5 separate regions of the Homo sapiens genome follow, and all the other regions are linked to region 1. Evidence: promoter capture Hi-C in 16 types of primary human blood cells and fetal thymus (Javierre and others, 2016). All regions are on one chromosome and are shown on one strand. The core of a region is centred on a gene start or on the middle of the fragment in contact, and the rest is flanking DNA. Distances in the headings are between cores, read along the strand shown.

Region 1 (3,905 bases), core at 824-3,323:
TTGCAGGTTGTAAACAAATCCTTCCTGCTGGTAGAACTAAATTGAAGTTTGACTTACAATGTTCCTCAATTACCTTATGATCCGTTAGTCAATGTTCAGCTCTTACCGAGTTCATAAATCATCTGAGCCAATCTCCCCAACCCGCAGACCGCCCCCCAAGTCCTCTTTAGCCCTCTCTGGAAATCAGTCAGCATTTACGTACACATCACATTTAAGTATACACTGCTGAACCCTACAGGCAGAAATTCATTTCTTTCACAAATATTTACAGAATTCCTACCACGTGCATGGCACTAGAATGAATGCTAGGGATAGAAGCCCAAACTCCATTTCCGTAAGGACTAGAATCTCATTCCTGCCCTCCAAGAGCTTACAATGTAACACTGTGCTAAGAGGCTCTGAACCTACATATGTAACTTTTAATTATACCATGCTGACTTAATAGCATGGCAGGTGATCACCCTAGATGTTAATACAAACTTTACATTCCTGTTGACACACTAAAAGATCTATCATCTAAAAACCAAAACAGGCCAGAATTAAAATCTGGCTACAGACTAAAACTTCAGGAATGAAGTTCTGTCTAAACCATTTTCAGACTTCCAGCATTTTTTTACTACTCACTTTTTTTCTCAGTTATTTTAGCCAAGAGCAAATGAGCGTTAGGCATAACCTTAAGAGCTAGAGAAGAGCATGTTTGTAATTATAAAAGGCTCATTATGCTCCTCTGCATCCCCAGATCCCCATTCAAAGAAAGGGCTGTACAACTAACTCCGGACAACAGATATAATTGGCTTGCCTTTCTTCATTAATATTAAATTTGTGGGAGACAGTCTTGGCGTTTTCACTGCAGTGAACTCGTGAAGTTGAACAATCTCCAAAGAGATGAAACTTTAAAAAGCCTATTCGAAGTTAAAGTCAAATCACACCAGGCAATTTAACTTTGCCTCGGATTTTCCACAACCTTACAAAAATTACAAAGTTCTTCTAAGTTCCTCCATCAAAAGGCCAAATTCCTGGTTTTTTCTTTCAACAAAATGGATGCGTCACAATCTTATTTACATCTTGCCGTTTTAACCAAGACCTCCTTGAATCCCAAGCCTAGGTCTACACTTCCAGGCCCCTGAGAAGACCTAAGAACGATCAAGAAGGGATGCGCGGGTAAGCGTTGTCATCACAACATTAAAGATTTCGAAACTCCCAGACCACCAGAAAGCGTAGAGTATGGGGAAGAAAACCAAACCCAGCAACTCTAAGAGGCAAACTAGACCGGGAGGAAACAATCGGCCCCCAGGACAAAAAGCACATTCACACCTCTCCGTGCAACCCACTCATCCCTTTATACTCGCAGCGCTGCAGCCAAAGCACAAAGTTCTTTCTTTTCACCCAGAGTCTGTGCCTGTCGCGGTTAAACATGAACGGAGGAAAATTCCTAGTCAGAACCCAGAGGGGTAGGACGGGGCTTGGAGTGTGGGGACAACGCCAAGCAGGGAGCTGTCCAGGGGCACTGCCCGCCCGGGGTCTCCAGCTGTGAAGTTGCGCTCCTCGGGAGATTCCTGGGGTCAGAACGAGAGGCTGGAGTCGGAGCGAGGCACAAGGGATGCGGGAGAAGAAAGGAGTGGGGCCGAAGAGGTAGCCAAAGAGAATGGGGCTCCGAGGCGAGAGAGAAAGGACTGGAAGGGGCAAAGGGCGGCCAAGGAGGGCGAAAAGGGGAAGCTGCCGCTGGGCGGGAGACGGCGGAGGAGCGAGACGGGGCGGGGGACCGCGGGAGGACGGGAAGGCGGGAAGGGGAGAGAGCGTGGAGCTCGGAGCTCCAGCAGGCACAGGCCGCGGCAGATAAGGGGGCGCGGAGAGGCCCAGGCCCGGCCCAGGCAGGAGGCGTCGGGAGACGACGCGACCCAAGGCGGGCGGGCCCGGGGAAAACCGCCCGCGGCCAGACCGGCAGTGGAAGCTGAGACGCAGTGCTGCGGCCCCTCCCCGTCACGTCAGGGCACTTACCTCCTCGCAGCTGGGACGCTCCGGTGATGCGGGGCAGTCAGTTCAGAGCGTCTCTCCCAAATCTCGGCACCCGACTGACCCGGATCCAAACCAGCCAAGGGGGCGGCCCGCGCCTCGGGAGTCGCGTTGCGCCTGCGCACTCCGGCATGCACCCCTCCCCCTGCTTATGCTCCTCCCACCCCAGTGACTCGGCAGCGCGGCAGCCGACGACTGCGCAGACGCAGGGCGGCGGCCGCGCCTCTCCAACGCCCCGCACCCGCCCCCCTCAGAAGCACGTGCGCCTTACGTAATTTCCTGTTATTCTTCGGTTTGCCTCCTCCCAGTGGCGTGGATTTGCTCCCGACCCGCTTTTGGGGCGTGCCTGCTTCCTCCTCTCTGTTAGGTGAGTGAGTAGGCGTCATTCTTCACAGTAGTCCTCTGCCTCCACCGCCCCGGGATCTCCTTGCGCTCGGTCCTCTACGTGGAGTCACCTATGCAGAGGAATTCCACGGGGCGGGGGCGAGGACAGGGTGCGGGGGTCTTTATGGCAGACAATCCCCGGCTGAGCGCTTGGCCAGAGTTTCTGTGATGCTAGAATCTGGACTGCCTGCGACCTCTCCGGGACTCGGACACCAGCCCTCGCCTCCTGGTGATCTTTTAGGTCCTGCAGAGAAGTGAAGAGGTATTGGACGTGGCCAGGGTCAATAGTGTGAAGCCAGAATTAGAATTGAATTGAAATGCCTTCGGTTTTGATATCTCTGCTGTTTGTCTTGAGGCAACTGCTTTTCCTCCTTTGGGCCTCTCAGTTTTCCATCTAGTAAGTGAGGAAGTTGAACCTTATCGGTGAATCTCGTGTTTTCAGGCGTAGACTCCTTTGAGAATCTGGTGAGAACTGTAGATCCTCTTGCCAAAGAAATGCACCTACACACCAAATTTTGCAAAAAGATTTAGGCAGTTCACCAAAGGAGATGAATTTTAGGATTCTTTACATTTTTCTGATTCTGAATGTTGCTCAGATGGTAGGCGGGAAAAGGTGATCTGTGCAACAGCTGCCACCCGCTCCATCACCAGGACTGGTTCTGCTGATCTAGCTGTGCCTCTCCTCGCCTGCCAATCTCCAGCTCCACGTCTGCACTGCTCAAAGCTTCGTGAGAACAGATGATTTTGCGCAATTGAGTTGGATGGCGTTGATTGTGGCCCACCCCTAGAGTGAGGGTTTTTCCCTGAACCAAAACTGGCCCCATCCACCGTCATTCCCCAATACCTTAGTTGTAGTCAACTAGATAGGCTGCCGAAGATGGTTTAACTGTGTCCAGCTTAACTACAGCCAGGCTTTGGAATGCCTGGCCTATGTCTGTAAATGAAATCTAACAATTTATTGTATAACGTTGTTAAACATGAAGCATGATGTTGGCCCTGGATAAAACATTTTAAATTCTCGTCGTTCATACCAGAGGCTCAGTAACTGACCGGTTGAAAGAAAACTGTTCATTGTAACCTAATGATGCTAGTTAGATAGCATTAGATTATGTTAGAGATCAGATAACTTGTTCTAGCTGCCTTTGTCCTGTCTCACAGTGCTAGTAAGTCAGGATTTAAACTGCCCTTCTCAACATCTCTTGGACAAGAAAAAGCGGGAAATATGATGTATTTATTTTCTCAGACCTTGCCAAGTGAAATGTATCAAAACCAAACATGTCTTTTTAAGCTGCCACTTCAAAATATAACTTAAGATAAAATCTCATATATCCTTGAGAAGGCCTGGCACGGTAGCTCATGCCTATAATCCCAGCACTTTGGGAGGCCGAGGCGGGTGGATCACTTGAGGTCAGGAGTTTGAGACCAGCCTGGCCAACATGGCGAAACCCTTTCTCTACTAAAAATATGAAAAATTGGCTGGGCATGGTGGCGCATGCACCTATAATCCC
Region 2 (4,177 bases), core at 1-2,500, 750 kb after region 1:
CGGCGCGGAGCTCCTCCACAGAGTCTGGGAATTTGGGGGCCATCCCGTGGCCAGGCCGGCGAGTTGGGAGCTCCTTCCTTCCTCCCCCGTGTGGTGCGGCACACCTTCCGGGCGCAAGCGCCGGCGGCGAATATCTCCGCCCAACAGCGAACCCGCGGCGAGGGGGCGGGGCCTGCGAGACCTGGAGGCCCGGAGCGTCCCGCCCTCTGCGCGTGCTCGGTTTGGAACTTAGGCTCCCTTGCACGCGGGGCGGCAGCATGCTCTGGGCTCCCTGAGTTGCTAGAACGCCGTGGATGACGCAGGGAAGGAGGCTGGCCCCGCTATCAGGGAGATTATGTCCTAGTGGGGTCCCCACAGGCAATTAACTGATAAGCAAACGAAGACTCTCATTTCATGTGATTAGTGCTGTAAGGAAAACAAAACAGGATAATGCAATGGAAAGTGACCACGTGTGGGCTATTTTAAATAAGGGGATGAAGGAAGGCCTTTCTCAGGGGGTAATAGTTGAGCTGAGACCAGACAAGATTTAGGGAATGCTGTTCCAGCCAGAGGGATGGTAAGTGCAAAGGTTCCAAGGCTAGAAAGTACCTGGTACCTAGTGCTCTATAGATATTTATTTAATAAATTAATGCACAGGTGGATTGATGGTGTCAAAGTCAACATATAGAGATGAATCTCTAAAGTTTAAATATTTTATTTGGCAATCAAGAATTGCAATTCAGGGCTTACACACAGACCAGGTTGTCTTTGGTATGTCAGAAGAACAAAGAGAAGGTTTGGAGATTTTTATAAAACAGAAATGTTACATATTGCTCTTCAAGGAAGTTTACAGGCACTAGTAAAGTGGGGGTTTATCAGCTTCTTGGGGAGCTGGCAAGCTTTGATTGGTAAGTGATAGTGGTGGATAAAACTCAGAATTGTAGCAGGCTGTTTCAGTAGCTATTAGATAAAACTGGTTTTAGGTTACAGCAGGCAGTTTTAGCAGCCAGGCTTGCAAAAAATTACTTTTTTGGAGCAATGTTATATGCCCTGAGTATTTGTTCCCCTGGCTTTTCAATTCTGTCTTAGTTGGATATGACAAGAATGACCCAATTCGTATGATCAGCTTTCAGAATGGATGAAGATCTTTCACAGAGTGTGACTTCAATTTATCTCCAGCCTCATCTGACGACTCTATGTCCCACGCATTGCTATCTACACACACTAAATTCTTGCTTCCTAGCCTTTGCTTGTTATCTCCTTCTCCTGGATTTTTTTTTCTAAATACTTTTTCTCCTGCCTAATCCTGAATTAACTTATAACATTCCATTCAAACATCATCTTCTCTGAAAGCCTTTCCTGCTTCCAGCCCCCTCCCCACCCCCCACTATGCTCCCTTTGCTCCCTATTGGTCTCTAGCTTTATCCCTAACTTTGCATTAGTCACCCTTTGATTGCCAGTTTGTAGTTTTCCTTAAACACTGCGAGGTCTTTAATGGCAGGAAGTGGGTCCTTTTTATCTTTGTTTATCCAAGACCCTAATAGGGTCTGGCATCCAATAAAAGTCATTGATTGATAAAGATCTAGTCTCTACCTTCAGGAATTCAGTTATAATGATCTGCATACACTTAACTCCACCAGACTATAAGCTTTCTGAGGGCTGGATGGCTGTTCCATCTGAAATGCTTCCCCTTGCCCTCTGCCCCGACCAAGGATGAACACTGACTGTGGTGGGAAAACCAGATGAGGCCCATGCTGCTGGCTGGCTACTCAGTGACTTCCATCTTTGCTTCCAGGAGCCTGAATTTTGCCTGAGACTCTCCCAGCCTGGGGAAGTGAATCAGGATTGCTCTAAGCCAATTAGAAAAATGTCATTTTCTCTTGCCAGTGATTCATCAAGGGATGCACATGTGATGCTGATCTGGGCAATGAGATAAAAGGGAGTCTGAGGCTGGTCGCAGTGGCTCACATCTGTAGTCCTAGCACTTTGGGAGGCCGAGGCGGGTGGATCACAAGGCAGGAAATCGAGACCATCCTGGCTAACACAGTGAAACCCCATCTCTACTAATAATACAAAAAATTAGCTGGGGTGGTGGCACGCACCTGTAGTCCCAGCTACTCAGGAGGCTGAGGCAGGAGAATAGCTTGAACCCGGGAGGTGGAGGTTGCAGTGAGCTGAGATTGCACTGCTGCACTCCAGCCTGGGCGACAGAGCAACACTCCGTCTCAAAAAAAAAAAAAAAAAAAAAAAAGAGTCTGCTGAGTGTTTATGGGAAAGGTTTCCCTCCCCATAACAGAGAGGTACTGGGTCAAGTAGCCATTCTTGCTCTTTTTCTGCTTTGGGTAGTGCTGGGTTAAGGATATGATACCTGGAGGTGTGGCAGTCATTTTGCAACCATGAGGCAATAAACACAAGTATGAAAAGCCAACATGCTGAGTAGGATGGGAGGGGAAAAAATGAAATAGATATTGCTGAGTCATTGAATCAACTGCTGACTTATTAGCTTATTAATAAACAATAAAGGCAAGGTGTGGTGGCTCACAGCTGTAATCCCAGCTCTTTGGGAGGCCGAGGTGGACGGATCACTTGAAGTCAGGAGTTTGAGACCAACCTGGCCAACATGGTGAAACCCCATCTCTACTAAAAATACAAACAGTAGCTGGGCGTGGTGGCATGCGCCTGTAATCCCAGCTACTCAGGAGGCTGAGGCAGGAGAATTGCTTGAATCCAGTGAGCCCAGATCACTGGGCTGCTGTGGTCCATCCTGGGCAATACGGCGAGACTCTGTCTCAAAACAAACAGTAAATGCCATGGTGCTTTAAGCCAACATTTAGATGTTTTCACTTGCTTGCAGCTGAATATTTCCTGAGTGGTTTATCGGATAAGTGTAGCTGTGGCAAATTTTATTTTCCAAAAATGGCCCCAATAATATTTCTGGTTCCCCAAGCTCTTCCAGACCCTTGCCACTGCCCTATGAGGAGGTGGAGTCTGCATCCCTTCTCCTTGAAACTGGGTGGGCCTTTGTGGCCCCCCTCCACAGTGGTAATGACATTAAGTATCTTCCACTAAAAGGCACTGCAGCATCCCACTTGGCTCTCCCTCGGGAACATGCTTTAGAACCCAGGCTTTATTTTGTGAGGAAGCTCAAGAAAAATGGAGACGCCCCTAGCCTTCAGACCCAAGTGAGCTTCCAGCCAACAGCTAGCACCAACCTGTCAGCTGTGTGAAATGCCTTTTGGACAGGGCTGATTGATCCTGATTGACACCATAAACAGAGATGAGCCTTCCTGCTGAGCCATGCTCAAATTGTAGATTTCTGAGAAGAAAAAAAGACTGTTGTTCTATGCCTATAAACTTTGGGGTGGTTTCTTACACAGCAGTCAATACCTGGAAATCCCTTCCTGCAGTGCTTCCTATAAATGCCAGGACTGATAAAAACAGTACTGAAATAATTTGAAGGAGGGACAGATGAGAGGGTCAGGGGAGGGACAAGGGAACAGAGAAGTCTTCTGGGAAGAGGTGTCTTTTTTTGTAAAATAGCTTTATTGAGATATAACTCACATATTGAAAGTGTACAATTCAATGCCTTTTAGTATATTCAGAGTTGTATAACCATTACTACAACCAATTTTAGAACATTTTCATCACCCCAAAATGAAATCTCACACCTTTTAATCATCCCCTCCAATTCACCTATGCTCCCTTCCACCAGGGCCTTAGACAACCACAAATCCACCACAGGATTTGCCTATTCTGAACATCTCCAAACCTGCCAAAGCTATGCCATTAAAAGGCACTACAGCAAAGAGCATCATGCAACTTGCATCACACTGGGGGCCTGGCACAGAAGTGGCGGTGGTGGCACCAGGCAGGGCCTGATCCACGGGGTCCAGGGTGACCATGTGGGTCATGCAAATGGCATTACACAAATATGCCATGCTTGGCTAAGTTTTTTGTAGAAAAGGGGTTTCACCATATTGCCCAGGCTGGTCTCGAACTCCTGTTCTGCCTTGGCCTCCAAAAGTGCTGGGATTACAGGTGCAAGCCATCATACCCAGTCCCTTGAATACTGTTATGCAATTGTTCCCCATTTTCTGCCAGGTGTTGGTTTGAGGATCTATTAGGATACTAAAATGTGAGTATACTCATGTACTATAGTTGACCCTGCAGAACCTATGGAAACGAAAAGTCAGCCCAC
Region 3 (4,201 bases), core at 853-3,352, 750 kb before region 1:
CGCCCGCGCCCAGCGTCCCAGGCCTGGTGGCGGCGGGAACTCTCCAAGGAAAGAAGCGGCCAAGGCCGCGGCGCCGCGTGGCAGGGCCTCAAAGATGGCGACGGCGCGGCGTCGCGGGGGCGCGCGGTGGGGTACGGGCGCGCGCACGTGCGCGTCCTGGCTAACGACTCCCCCGCGGTTGTCCGGCCCTCGCACCGCCCCTAGGTACGGCTTCGTGGAGTTCGAGGACTCCCGCGACGCCGACGACGCCGTTTACGAGCTGAACGGCAAGGAGCTCTGCGGCGAGCGCGTGATCGTAGAGCACGCCCGGGGCCCGCGTCGCGATCGCGACGGCTACAGCTACGGAAGCCGCAGTGAGTCCCACCCCCGCGCGCTCCGCGCCCTTGGGGACCCTGGGGGCGGGGGTGGGTGGGGTGGGGCCTCCCAGCCCGGGCAGGCGCGAGGGCCGGGGGTCGTTTGACTTGGGTGTCCCCGAGCCCCGCTGCCTTCACGTCTGCCCGGGGCAGCCATGGGACGCCGGAGCGCGGGGATTGGGTTTGGGTGTTTGGTTTTGTTTATTTGCCAAGTTGGGAGGTGGGTGGCTTCTTCTGGCCCCTTGTCAGCACTGTCACGGGTTCTTCCCACAGAGGAAGTAAGGGGTGGCTGTATTTGTTGTATTCTCCTTACTTACCTATCAGTGCATTAGTTAGAGGTTCGGGGGCAGGCTCGGGTGGAGGTGGGGTAGGGGGCGCGGGGGACGGGGAAGGGGAGGAGCATAAAGTATAGGTCTTAAAGCTATGGAACTTGATGGGGGCCAAAGAATGTACTATTTTTAAGTAATGTGGTATTGTACCACAAAGTAGATCTAAATAAGCTTTATGCTGTATTTGAACTAATTGGGGCATGTTATTGGGAGGAGGTTGGGGGGATTTTTGGTTATGTTAAATGTTTGATGTTTAAATTGTTGCATGTTGAATTCAAACTTTTTAACAAGTCCTTGATGTTTCAATTTGAAAGTGACCAATGGGGCTGAGGCTGTGTCCACTGAGGCTAAGATGACTGCCTTTCCTGATTGGCCTTGGCTTTTCCATACATTGTGTGACCCTTGCCCTATGACCCTTTGGCTGACCTTACCGGAAGCCATGACGACAGCAGCCTTTTGCCATTAGACGCAGGGTGATGGTGAGGATTCCAAGGGTTAGACAAAACTGGTTAATCTGAACTAGGTGACTGTTACCTTGCGTGTTTTGTGGCCAAACCACCACCAAAAACCTCACACTGTGATGTAAGTACTTAGTGTAAAACTAGTAAACATTTTTGTAAAATGTAGAAATGCATGTAATCAGTTAAGTTTTATATTTTACAATGTTCTGTAAAATAAAACTTAGCGAGGTAAATCGAATAAAGGAGCAGTCACTCTCTAACAGATTGTAGGAGAGGTTTAGTTGGATTTAGTCTATTTGACTTGCCCTTAATTTAATTTTATGGCAAATCACAAATGTGTCGAAGGTTTAGCAATATAATAGCAAAGTCCTACTCCAGTAAATAAAAGTTGATATGTTTGTACTAACTTTCAAAGACATTATGCGTTTTTATCATTACAAGGCATCTAATTGTTCCCTTCATGTGATAAAGGTGGTGGAGGTGGATACAGCAGTCGGAGAACATCTGGCAGAGACAAATACGGACCACCTGTTCGTACAGAATACAGGCTTATTGTAGAAAATCTTTCTAGTCGGTGCAGTTGGCAAGATTTAAAGGTATGTTTTGTAATTCAAGATAGAAATGATATGACTAATGCTTTAAAGTAAACTCCTTTTATATTCTTATTTCTGGGAATTTATTATGGTATATAGATGTTTTAAGATTTCCGAGTCTGACCAATCTTGTCTTTCAGGATTTTATGCGACAAGCAGGTGAAGTAACCTATGCGGATGCCCACAAGGAACGAACAAATGAGGGTGTAATTGAGTTTCGCTCCTACTCTGACATGAAGCGTGCTTTGGACAAACTGGATGGCACAGAAATAAATGGCAGAAATATTAGGCTTATTGAAGATAAGCCACGCACAAGCCATAGGCGATCTTACTCTGGAAGCAGATCCAGGTAACTTGTTGAAGGACACTGTGGGAAGGAAACAATATTTGCCAATAAAAAGGGAGTAATTGAGTGATGTCAATTGTTGCCTACTTGAATTAAAGCCAGCTTTTAGTTTGTTTTGGCTGTGCATCATTGCGTTCTTTTCTGGATGTTTTGAACAGTGTATTTAATTTCGTAGTAAAGAAAAACATTATTCTTTGGCTTATCTATTTTTGCCAGATGGCACGGATGTATTTAAGTTGGATTGGGATTAAGACTTCATTGTTTTTCTCCTAATAGGTCTCGATCTAGAAGACGGTCACGAAGTAGGAGTCGCAGGAGCAGCCGCAGTAGATCTCGAAGTATCTCAAAAAGTCGCTCCCGGTAAATAACGTTGTGTTGAGTCACTGTGAATATTACCGTACTTGTTTATGGAGTATGTGTACATTCTCACTAAGTATTGAGAAAATCGGTCTTTCCTTGTCCAGTTCCAGGTCGCGGAGCAAAGGTCGATCACGTTCTCGATCAAAAGGCAGGAAATCTAGATCAAAGAGCAAATCTAAGCCCAAGTCTGATCGGGGCTCCCATTCACATTCTCGAAGCAGATCTAAGGATGAGTATGAGAAATCTCGAAGCAGGTCTCGGTCCCGATCCCCTAAAGAAAATGGAAAGGGTGATATAAAGTCAAAATCCAGATCAAGGAGCCAGTCCCGTTCCAATTCGCCGCTACCTGTTCCACCCTCAAAGGCCCGTTCTGTGTCCCCTCCACCAAAAAGAGCTACTTCAAGATCCCGTTCTAGATCTCGCTCAAAGTCAAGATCAAGGTCCAGGTCGAGTTCCAGAGATTAACTCAGAACTCCTTGTTTGCACATTATTATGGAACACTTTCCTACTTAGGCAGTTACTCTTCCATGTTTATACTTGGCCTCTTCTGCAAGAGGAATCTCTTGAAAACAGGGGCACACAGAAATTTGATTTGTGGCCAAATTGGATGAAAAAGATGAGGCTCTAAGGAAATGGTGGCATGAAGACCCTCTCCCTTCTTTGTAGAATTAAGATAACTTTGATTTTATAGCTTTTGAGCTAACGTAACTTTTGTAAAGATTAAGCTCATTTAGTGTTGTTTTTTTTTTTTTTTTTTTTTTTTTTTTTTTTTTTTTAGTATTTCAGCAGGATCTGCTGGCAGGGTTTTTTTGTTTTATTTGTTTGCTTATTTTTAAATTAACTGTTTTGAGCTTTGAATACTTAAGGCTTTAGAGGGAGAACCCAATTTTCAATTATGTTGGCTTTTTATAAAGCTTGAGTTATGTAAGATTTAAATAAAAGTTTGCTACCAAGATGATTGCCTTATTGAATAGGTCACTATTAAATTCCTTTAAATGTTGATATCTGCCATTTGTGGAAACAACGTAAATTCTACTTAAGTGTAAACAAGGCAAGCCTCAGACCAGCAATAAATTACTCAGTTTGGATAACATTATTTTGTGCAGTTAATCAAATTTGCCAAAGTCTTTATCTGCCCCTTTAACAAGTTGAGTAAAAATAAAAGGTATTTTTTAGTCAATGTGTTCCATGATTTTGCTTAAATTAATACTTTTAAGTAATGGAACTTTTTTCAAAGGCAAATTTAAACTATTTAAGAAATAGCTCCTAATACTTGGGATCTTGTTTAGAGAATCCACTTTCTGGAAGTTCTCAGCATAATTAGTGTTGAGAGTGGTTCAGTTGTCTTTAATGTTTGTCATGTGGAAATGGAAGTAGCCTCTTTTTGTTCTGAAATTGAGTTTATTCAAAGTGTAAAAGCACATACTGCATTTTCTGCTGAAAGATCATTATGTTTAACAGGCACTTAATCTCAGTAAAGTCAGTTGCCAGTTAAGTTCCACCCAGTAGTCAGTCCCCTTTGTAGTTAGTGGGATTATTTGATAATTGGTTAGATCATACTTGTAAATTTTAATGCTTTGTGTAATTGGTTTGAAAAACAGTGAAATGGGTAAACGCAAAACTTTTGTACTTTATTACGAGTAAAGTGTAATGAGTACTGTGGAAACCAAATTTGAATACTGCAAATTTGTAGGAGTTACTAGGTTAGCAATTAGTCCATACATCCATAAGCCTGATGAGTTGAAATTGCAGTTTGAGA
Region 4 (3,811 bases), core at 1,105-3,604, 630 kb before region 1:
GTAATAACAGCACCTAACACAGCTGTTTTGAAGATCAAATGGATTAGTATTAATGTATGCAAAGTACTCTCAGCAGTGTCTGGCACACAATAAGTGCTTTTTAAGTGTACCAAAAGCTTTACATTCCAGTTACTGTAAATCGTAACAACAGTTAGGGCATCTGCTGCCTATTCCTGGCCAGCTTAAAGAATAGGGGCTTCCGTGAAGATGTCTCCTGTTCCAAGCAAAAATTTGTATCTTAAAAAAATATGTATGACTCTTAAAATAAGTTATACATTCACATAGATCAAAATTCAAAGGGTACAAAAGAGTATCTAGAAAAAGTCCTTCCAGCCACCCAGTTCCTCAATTCAGAGGCAACCAATGTTACCAATTTCTTGGGCATTCTTTCGGAGGCTTTTTTTTTTTTTTTTTTTTTTTTGAGACAGAGTCTTGCTCTGTTGCCCAGGCTGGAGTGCAGTGGCATGATCTCGGCTCACTGCAACCTCTGCCTCCCGGGTTCAAGTGATTCTCCTGCCTCAGCCTCCCAAGTAGCTAGGATTACAGGCACACACCACCACGCCTGGCTAATTTTTCTATTTTTGTAGAGACGAGGTCAACCATGTTGACCAGGTTGGTCATGAACTCCTGACCTCAGGTGATTCACCTGCCTTGACCTCCCAAAGTGCTGGCACTACCAGCGTGAGCCACTGCACCCAGCCTCTTACGGAGATATTTTGGATCTGGGTTGTTAACCAGCCCACTGGGGTTCCTGATATAGGGAGGTGGAGAATAATTATTTGAGAAACACAGATAGAGGATGTGATGGAAAGAAGTTGGTGCCAATGTTGATTTTGATTAGGAAAGGTGGTGAATCATGACCAGGGCTGAGTCCTAAAATCTGGGTGTCTGGGAATCTGAAGGTCTTCTTGGGGGCTTTATTTTTCAAACCTTCCCTAGTGAATTGATTTAGTCTACTTCTCTGGTTTGCATACTGGAAAACTCAAGATGTACTGAAGCAGAGTGAGGGGAGGGGTCTCCAAGCTCCCACTGGTACTCCCCCACCCCCAGAGCAGATTCTGATGTATTATTCACTGACACCCCCAAAGCCTAGCAAAGGGTCGGTGCCCAGAGAAGATGCTCAGTAAATAGTTTTGGAATAAACAGATGCTGTAGTGGGGAGAAGGGTTTGGATTCTGGATGATGGGAGAGGCTTGGCTGCAAAACTCTCTTGTCCCAGGAAACTAGCCAGAACTGCAAGTTAATTTCCAGTTGACAGCCAGTTGCTTGTGGAGCTCTGGAGGATGTGGGGGTGAGGTGAGAGCACCCATGGGGAGGGCTACTTCTAACCAGAACCTTTTTTCTGCACTTCCTGCAGCTTGAGATTAAGAACCATGTATTCTTCAGCCCCATAAACTGGGATGACCTGTACCACAAGAGGCTAACTCCACCCTTCAACCCAAATGTGGTAAGAGGTCACAGCATTCTAGACTCTGGATTTCCGGGGCTGGGGGAGCTTGCTATGCTTGCCAACTCTCCTTATCTAGATGGAAAACTTGGGGGTCCAAGAAGCTCAGTCATTTGTCCTAGGCTACACAGTCAGTTAGAGACAGAACTGGGCCTGACTACAGGTGCAGCTCTTGGATAAACAGCCATGTTGCTGCTCCTTTGTCTTGAGCACCAATAAATAACTCTGGCTGCAGAGACTTTTACAGTTTGTGAAGTGCTCTGTTTCGCACAGCACACCCACATAGGGCCAAGCCCTTTAGAGATATTTTATCCTTTTCTATTTATAGACTTTTTCCTGATAATAAAAATGACATATATCCTTATAAAAAGTATGTAAAACACTGGCCAGGCACAGTGGCTCACGACTGTAGTATCAGCACTTTGGGAGGCTGAGGCGGGTAGATCACTTGAGGTCAGGAGTTTAAGACCAGTGTAGCCAACATAGTGAAACCCCATCTTTACTAAAAATACAAAAATTAGCCAGACATGGTGGTGCACACCTGTAATCCCTGCTACTCGGGAGGCTGAGGTGGGAGAATAGCTTGAACCTGGGAGGCAAGGGTCACAGTGAGCCAAGATCATGCCATTGCACTCCAGCGTAGGCAACAGAGGGAGACTTCATCTCAAAAAAAAAAAAAAAAAAAAAGGGAATGTATGTAAAACAGAAAAGTTTAAAGTAGCAGTGGCGAAATGCTTATTATCTCACTACTTAAGGGAAACCACTGGCATATTTCCTTCCAGTCACTTTTCTATGTGTTTTTTTTTGTTTGTTTTGTTTTGTTTTTTTTCTTGAGATGGAGTCTCACTCTGTTGCCCAGGCTGGAGTGCAGTGGCACAATCTCGGCTCACTGTAAGCTCTGCCTCCTGGGTTCATGCCATTCTTCTGCCTCAGCCTCCTGAGTAGCTGGGACTACAGGCGCCCACCACCATGCCCGGCTAATTTTTTGTATTTTTAGCAGAGATGGGGTTTCACCATGTTAGCCAGGATGGTCTCGATCTCCTGACCTCGTGATCCGCCCGCCTCGGCCTCCCAAAGTGCTGGGATTACAGGCGTGAGCCACCGTGCCTGGCCTGTTTTGTTTTGTTTTTAACCTAATTAGGTCCTACTTTATAGTATCTATATGTGTGTGTGTGTTTATTCATCTATATTATCTTCCTCCTTTTTTGGCTAAAAACTATGTTATAATTTCCTCATGTCATAAAAAATTTTATAAATACAATTTTTAGTGGCTGCATAATATTTCCATCTTATGTTGGTAACATAATTTACTTACCCATGTTCCTAATGGCAATCTTATGGTTGTTACTATGTTTTTTCTTTATCATGATGTGCTGATGAACAGCTTTAAGTATATGTCTTTGCCCAGAATTCTGGTCATTTCTTTAAGATGGATTCCATATGGGGAATTCCCAATGCTAATGTTTTTTAGATTCTTTTTTTATTTTTATTTTATTTATTTATTTTTTTGAGACAGAGTCTCGTTCGATCGCCCATGTTGGAGTGCAGTGGCACGATCTCAGGTTCAAGCAATTCTCATGTCTCAGCCTCCCGAGTAGCTGTGATTATAGGCATGCGCCACCACGCCTGGCTAATTTTTGCATTTTCAGTAGAAACGGGGTTTCACCATATTGGCCAGGCTGGTCTCGAACTCCTGGCCCCGAGTGATCCACTCGCCTTGGCCTCCCAAAGTGCTGGGATTACAGGCGTGAGCCACCGCACCTGGCCATTTTTAGGTTGTTGATTCACACCACCTTTTCACTGTGTGGAAGGGAGAACCATCTACTTCCTACCAGCGGCACTTGCTGGAGAGTTCTCATCTTGCTTGCACTCTGAAGCATGTGTGGTTATTGTTTTTTACTTTGCAAATTTGGTAAGTAAAAAACAGCATCTCTTAATTGTTTTAATTTATATTTCTTTGTCTTATAGTAAAGATGGTTAGTTTTTTAAATTTATTTATTTTTTGAGACAGGGTCTCACTCTATCACCCAGGCTGATGTGCAGTGGCATGATCTCTGCCTATTGCAACCTCCACCTCCTGGGGTCAAGCCATCCTCCTACCTCAGCCTCCTGAGTACCTCAGCCTCCTGAGTAGTTGGGAGGTGGGTGCCACCACACCTAGCTAATTTGTATTTTTTGTACAGATGATGTTTTTCTATGTAGCCCAGGCTGATCTTGAACTCCTGGGCTCAAGTGATCCACCCCCTCAGCTTCCCAAAGTGCTGGGATAACAGGTGTGAGCCACCACACCTGGCCAGTTTTTATTTTCATTTTTATTTTTATTTTTATTTTATTTTATTTTATTGAGGTGGAGTCTCACTTTGT
Region 5 (3,595 bases), core at 1-2,500, 700 kb after region 1:
ATCATCCCTGTCTGCAGTGACACAGGAATAATTTTAAACTGTCGAGTGAGATAAGATTATACATACTGGGCCACTTACCTAGGGAACTTTTAGTAGCCCTGCTTTGATTATACTTCCTTTCTCTTGCAGCTGTGGACATCGGAAAACCAGGGAGACGAAGGAGACGCTGGGGAGGGAGAGAACTAATGTTTCTCGTGCTTTGTGATCTGTTCAGTGTCACTCTGTACCCTCAACATATATCCCTTGTGCGATAAAAAAAAAAAAAAAAAAAAAAAGAGAATCGTACGTCGACTTTCGATTTTTCACAGCCTCAGCCTAGGAAAAATGGTTCATGGGATAAACAGCTGGTATTTGTATCTAAAACTCAGATTGGTCACATAAATGCCACGGCATTCCGAAGTTTTGATTTTGATTAACATTGACAGGATTACTGTGTGTTTAATTTTTTAAAAACTGAACACTGTGATTATGGGGTTTTGTAATTTAGCAGAACTCTTACTGGTAGAAAAAATAGACCTGAATTATGTGTAACTTTTTGGAAGGTTTAATCTGATATCAAAATAATCATTGAAATACAATTCCATTGTAAAGTTGTACAGAAAGTTATAGAGATTATATTGTGATGCTGGAACTTGGAGTGAGACACACATCATTTGGCATTTGAGTTGAATGGTAATTCACAGTAATGCTGCCGTTGTTCGGGACTTAAAGACACTTGACCTGTTTGGGCTGTTGCCACTTAAAAGTTCATGACCACAAATGTCCACAGTGTCTTCCTCTGAGGAAACTCGAATCCTGAAATGGAAATTCTTTGTGGCAGATAACTGGCTTATGACACCTTGAAAAGTTCAAGTGCTCATATAACACACCACACTGAACCCCCTTTCCTACAGCAATATGTTCACTATGTTACCAATTTGCAACTTGTGCTTCAATAGTGGAATCTACTTTCATTGTTAACACTGAGCTAAAGAAAAAAAGCCGTGTGTTTTATGAATGACCTTATCTGTTTCCTGGATAATACCTTTAAGAATAATGTCCTGAGTCAGGCGTGGTGGTGCGTGCATCTAGTCCCAACTATTTGGGAGGCTGAGGCAGGAGGATCGCTTGAGCCCAGGAGTTTAAAGCTGCAGTGCCCTGTGGTTGCACCTGTGAATAACTGCACTCCAGCCTGGGCAACATAGCGAGACCTCATCTCCAAAAAAGAAAACAAAAAACAAAAAAAGGAATGATGTTCTGTAGAGATGGCCTTTCACTTGAGGAGTACTCAGTTTTCAGGTTCTTCCTAGCTCGGGGCTTTTAAATTTTGAAATCTAAACATTCTTTCCCACCATCCTTTTTGACTGTTGACCTTGGTTTTCTCTTCTAAGTTTCTGTCCCTCTGCTTCCTTACTTTTTTTCCTTTTTGAATTCTATCTTTATCTGTCTTTTGTTCACTTTTTAATGCTATATATGGGCAGGGGTGAGAGACATTACTGAGCACCTTGGTGAGCAAGCCTGGCTTTAAAGATTGGAGAAGAGCTTCTGGCACCAGAACCCTGTCTTCCTCCAGTTCTCAACACGGTGTTGCTCTTCAGTCATACCGGAATCTGAATCAAAAAAGTATTTTTAAATATCCATGATTTCTCCCTGTATTGAGGCTAGCCCTGATCATGCTTTTTGTGCCTGTCACCAGGTCTCCCAAGTGCACTCATCCAGGTCAGTGCTCAGATGTGTTTAAGGAGACCCTATATTCAGGGAAGTTGCGTGAACACTGCAGTGGGGAGAATTGAGAATAGTCAGGCCTATCAGTCTCACAGAATCACCCCTCTACCTTTGATATTCCACTTAGCTGTAGAGTCCATCTGTTTGTCCATCTGCTGAAATGAGAAAAGAAAAATTTATGCACTGATTTAAAACAAACCAAAAAAAAAGAAAAAAACAAAAAAAAAAATCCCTCCTTTCTAGCTGAACAAAAATGTGCAGTTAATACTTGGCGCTTGAAAATGCAGTAGTGAATGTGGAACCAAGCCTGTCTGTATATCTGGTAGCTCTTTTCTTGCTTTGTTTTTTCTTACCAGTATTCTGCCTAACGTTTGCTTCTGTGATGGTTATATTGCCTAGCAAGCACACCCGTGGTTGTGAAAATAGTATAGCAAAAAAGAAAAATCCCCGGTTATTGATGTACTAGATTTGTGTATGTCTTTTAAACAGTTCTAGTTTCACCTTACACAGAATAATCAGGAAAAGTGTAAAAATTCAAAAGTGAAATAAAAATTTTATCAGTTAGTTGCCTGTGAATTGATGTGTCACCACCATCTCTGTTGTTACCAGACCTAGCTAACTATTCTGATCACACTTATTTTTAACTCTGTTTTCTTTAAAAATAGGCAAACAGTTTTATTTCATTATTTAGGACCAGAAGTCAAGGTGTTATCCAGGGGAAGAAATTACCATTAATTAAACAGCCTCTTTACACCCGTTACTTGATACCTCTCTACCTTCCACAACAAACCATGCAGGTATTAGGTCCTCTTTAGTGACTTCTAAGATTTGGTATGGACAGTTATTTTGCATTGTATTCGAGCCCACCATCCCTTCCCCATTTTTTAACTCTGAGATACAACCAAGCCAGTGAAATAGGTAACCTATGGTTGCATAAGTCTTGGTCATCACCAAGCTGGCGTCTCACCTGTCCTCACACTGTATGGTGGCCTGCAGAGCTGGTTCCTCACAGGATTTGCCCCTTCTGAAAACATCCACATTACCACAAGGAGAGAAAAATATCAGGATAGAGGGGTCTTTTTTAGCCCAAGATTAGAATTAGTGCTTCCTTGCTACTCTGAGGCTGGACAGCCAGATGGGCACCTTCTGTCCCTAGTTTAGGAGCTGTTCCACCTGTTGAAGCCACACTCAACCAAAAGTCAGTGGGGGCCTACCTGCTCTGTTGGATCAGTGAGACCAGGAAAGTCCTATCAGAGGAAAAGTGAAGTATTGGTGCTCAGTGGAGTAGTTGTTTTGTTTTTGTGTTGTTTTTAATGTCCCTATACCACAGATTGACGCTGCAAGCTCAGATTCACAGTCTTGCTCTGTTTAGGTCTTGCTCTGCTATTAGTTCCCAATTGTCCGCATTTAGGCTGAGCCACAAGTAACTCAGTGAACCTCCCTGGTGTAATGGATGTGTAATGGCTTAGCAGAGGGACAGGGAATATCCCAGGAAAAGGGGTCTTGGTAATATGAGCCAGTACCAAGAAAGGCCTTAGTGGTCTCCAGTTCTCATGTCTCAAAGCCATTTCCATCCTTGGTGCGAAACGGTGGGACTGGATCAGGCTCTCTGGAGGAAGACATCTTCAATGGAGCAGGGTAAAATTCTCTACACAAGCTTTGAAACAGTGGCCTGTTCGGAATTCCGTTTGTGTGTGAAACGCAAAAAGCGCGGTTTGGGTCTCCTTTCATTCTTGTCAGGAGGGAATCATTCCCATTTTACAGAGAAGGGAAACGGGTTCAGAAAGATGATCATCTGTTCCGGGGTTAGAACTCAGTCCCCTGCGTCCTTTCCGTCCCAGTCCTCGGCTCTTTCAAAAGAGCTGGGGGTTTTGAGAGCTCCACTCAAGTC

What was found. The method cuts DNA at HindIII sites, captures the fragments that hold promoters and counts their contacts. A CHiCAGO score of 5 or more calls a contact.
Region 2: a fragment that was not itself captured here is called in contact with the fragment with the promoter of OSER1 in region 1 in 1 of 17 cell types (fetal thymus); the score reaches 5.1 in fetal thymus.
Region 3: a fragment that was not itself captured here is called in contact with the fragment with the promoter of OSER1 in region 1 in 8 of 17 cell types (M2 macrophages, monocytes, total B cells and 5 more); the score reaches 12.0 in M2 macrophages.
Region 4: a fragment that was not itself captured here is called in contact with the fragment with the promoter of OSER1 in region 1 in 1 of 17 cell types (neutrophils); the score reaches 5.4 in neutrophils.
Region 5: a fragment that was not itself captured here is called in contact with the fragment with the promoter of OSER1 in region 1 in 1 of 17 cell types (total B cells); the score reaches 5.6 in total B cells.

What each region holds. Positions count from the first base shown.
Region 1 is chr20:44,208,698-44,212,602 of GRCh38, forward strand. OSER1 (oxidative stress responsive serine rich 1) reads right to left here and starts at 2,074. Exons shown (of 4, transcript NM_016470.8): 1 at 1,999-2,074. It overlaps OSER1-DT (OSER1 divergent transcript), which reads left to right and starts at 2,263. Exons shown (of 3, transcript NR_038339.2): 1 at 2,263-2,380. RefSeq lists an enhancer at 1,484-2,103 and silencers at 1,763-1,832, 2,028-2,476. The HindIII fragment of the contact is 3,146 bases long and covers 1-3,119 here.
Region 2 is chr20:44,960,291-44,964,467 of GRCh38, forward strand. It overlaps TOMM34 (translocase of outer mitochondrial membrane 34), which reads right to left and starts at 107. Exons shown (of 7, transcript NM_006809.5): 1 at 1-107. The coding sequence starts at 43. STK4-DT (STK4 divergent transcript) reads right to left here. Exons shown (of 3, transcript NR_038341.1): 3 at 3,504-4,177. RefSeq lists an enhancer at 1-55 and a silencer at 286-365. The HindIII fragment of the contact is 749 bases long and covers 877-1,625 here.
Region 3 is chr20:43,458,157-43,462,357 of GRCh38, forward strand. SRSF6 (serine and arginine rich splicing factor 6) reads left to right here. Exons shown (of 6, transcript NM_006275.6): 2 at 205-353; 3 at 1,615-1,739; 4 at 1,877-2,085; 5 at 2,359-2,442; 6 at 2,547-4,201. The coding sequence ends at 2,907. Among named protein-coding and RNA genes, the nearest start is that of SRSF6, 2.4 kb to the left of the region's middle. RefSeq lists enhancers at 1-485, 1-16 and silencers at 157-256, 267-526. The HindIII fragment of the contact is 2,503 bases long and covers 852-3,354 here.
Region 4 is chr20:43,578,615-43,582,425 of GRCh38, forward strand. It overlaps SGK2 (serum/glucocorticoid regulated kinase 2), which reads left to right. Exons shown (of 13, transcript NM_170693.3): 12 at 1,358-1,447. Among named protein-coding and RNA genes, the nearest start is that of IFT52, 10 kb to the right of the region's middle. The HindIII fragment of the contact is 4,480 bases long and covers 115-3,811 here.
Region 5 is chr20:44,906,253-44,909,847 of GRCh38, forward strand. It overlaps YWHAB (tyrosine 3-monooxygenase/tryptophan 5-monooxygenase activation protein beta), which reads left to right. Exons shown (of 6, transcript NM_139323.4): 6 at 130-2,280. The coding sequence ends at 186. Among named protein-coding and RNA genes, the nearest start is that of PABPC1L, 2.0 kb to the right of the region's middle. The HindIII fragment of the contact is 4,218 bases long and covers 1-3,359 here.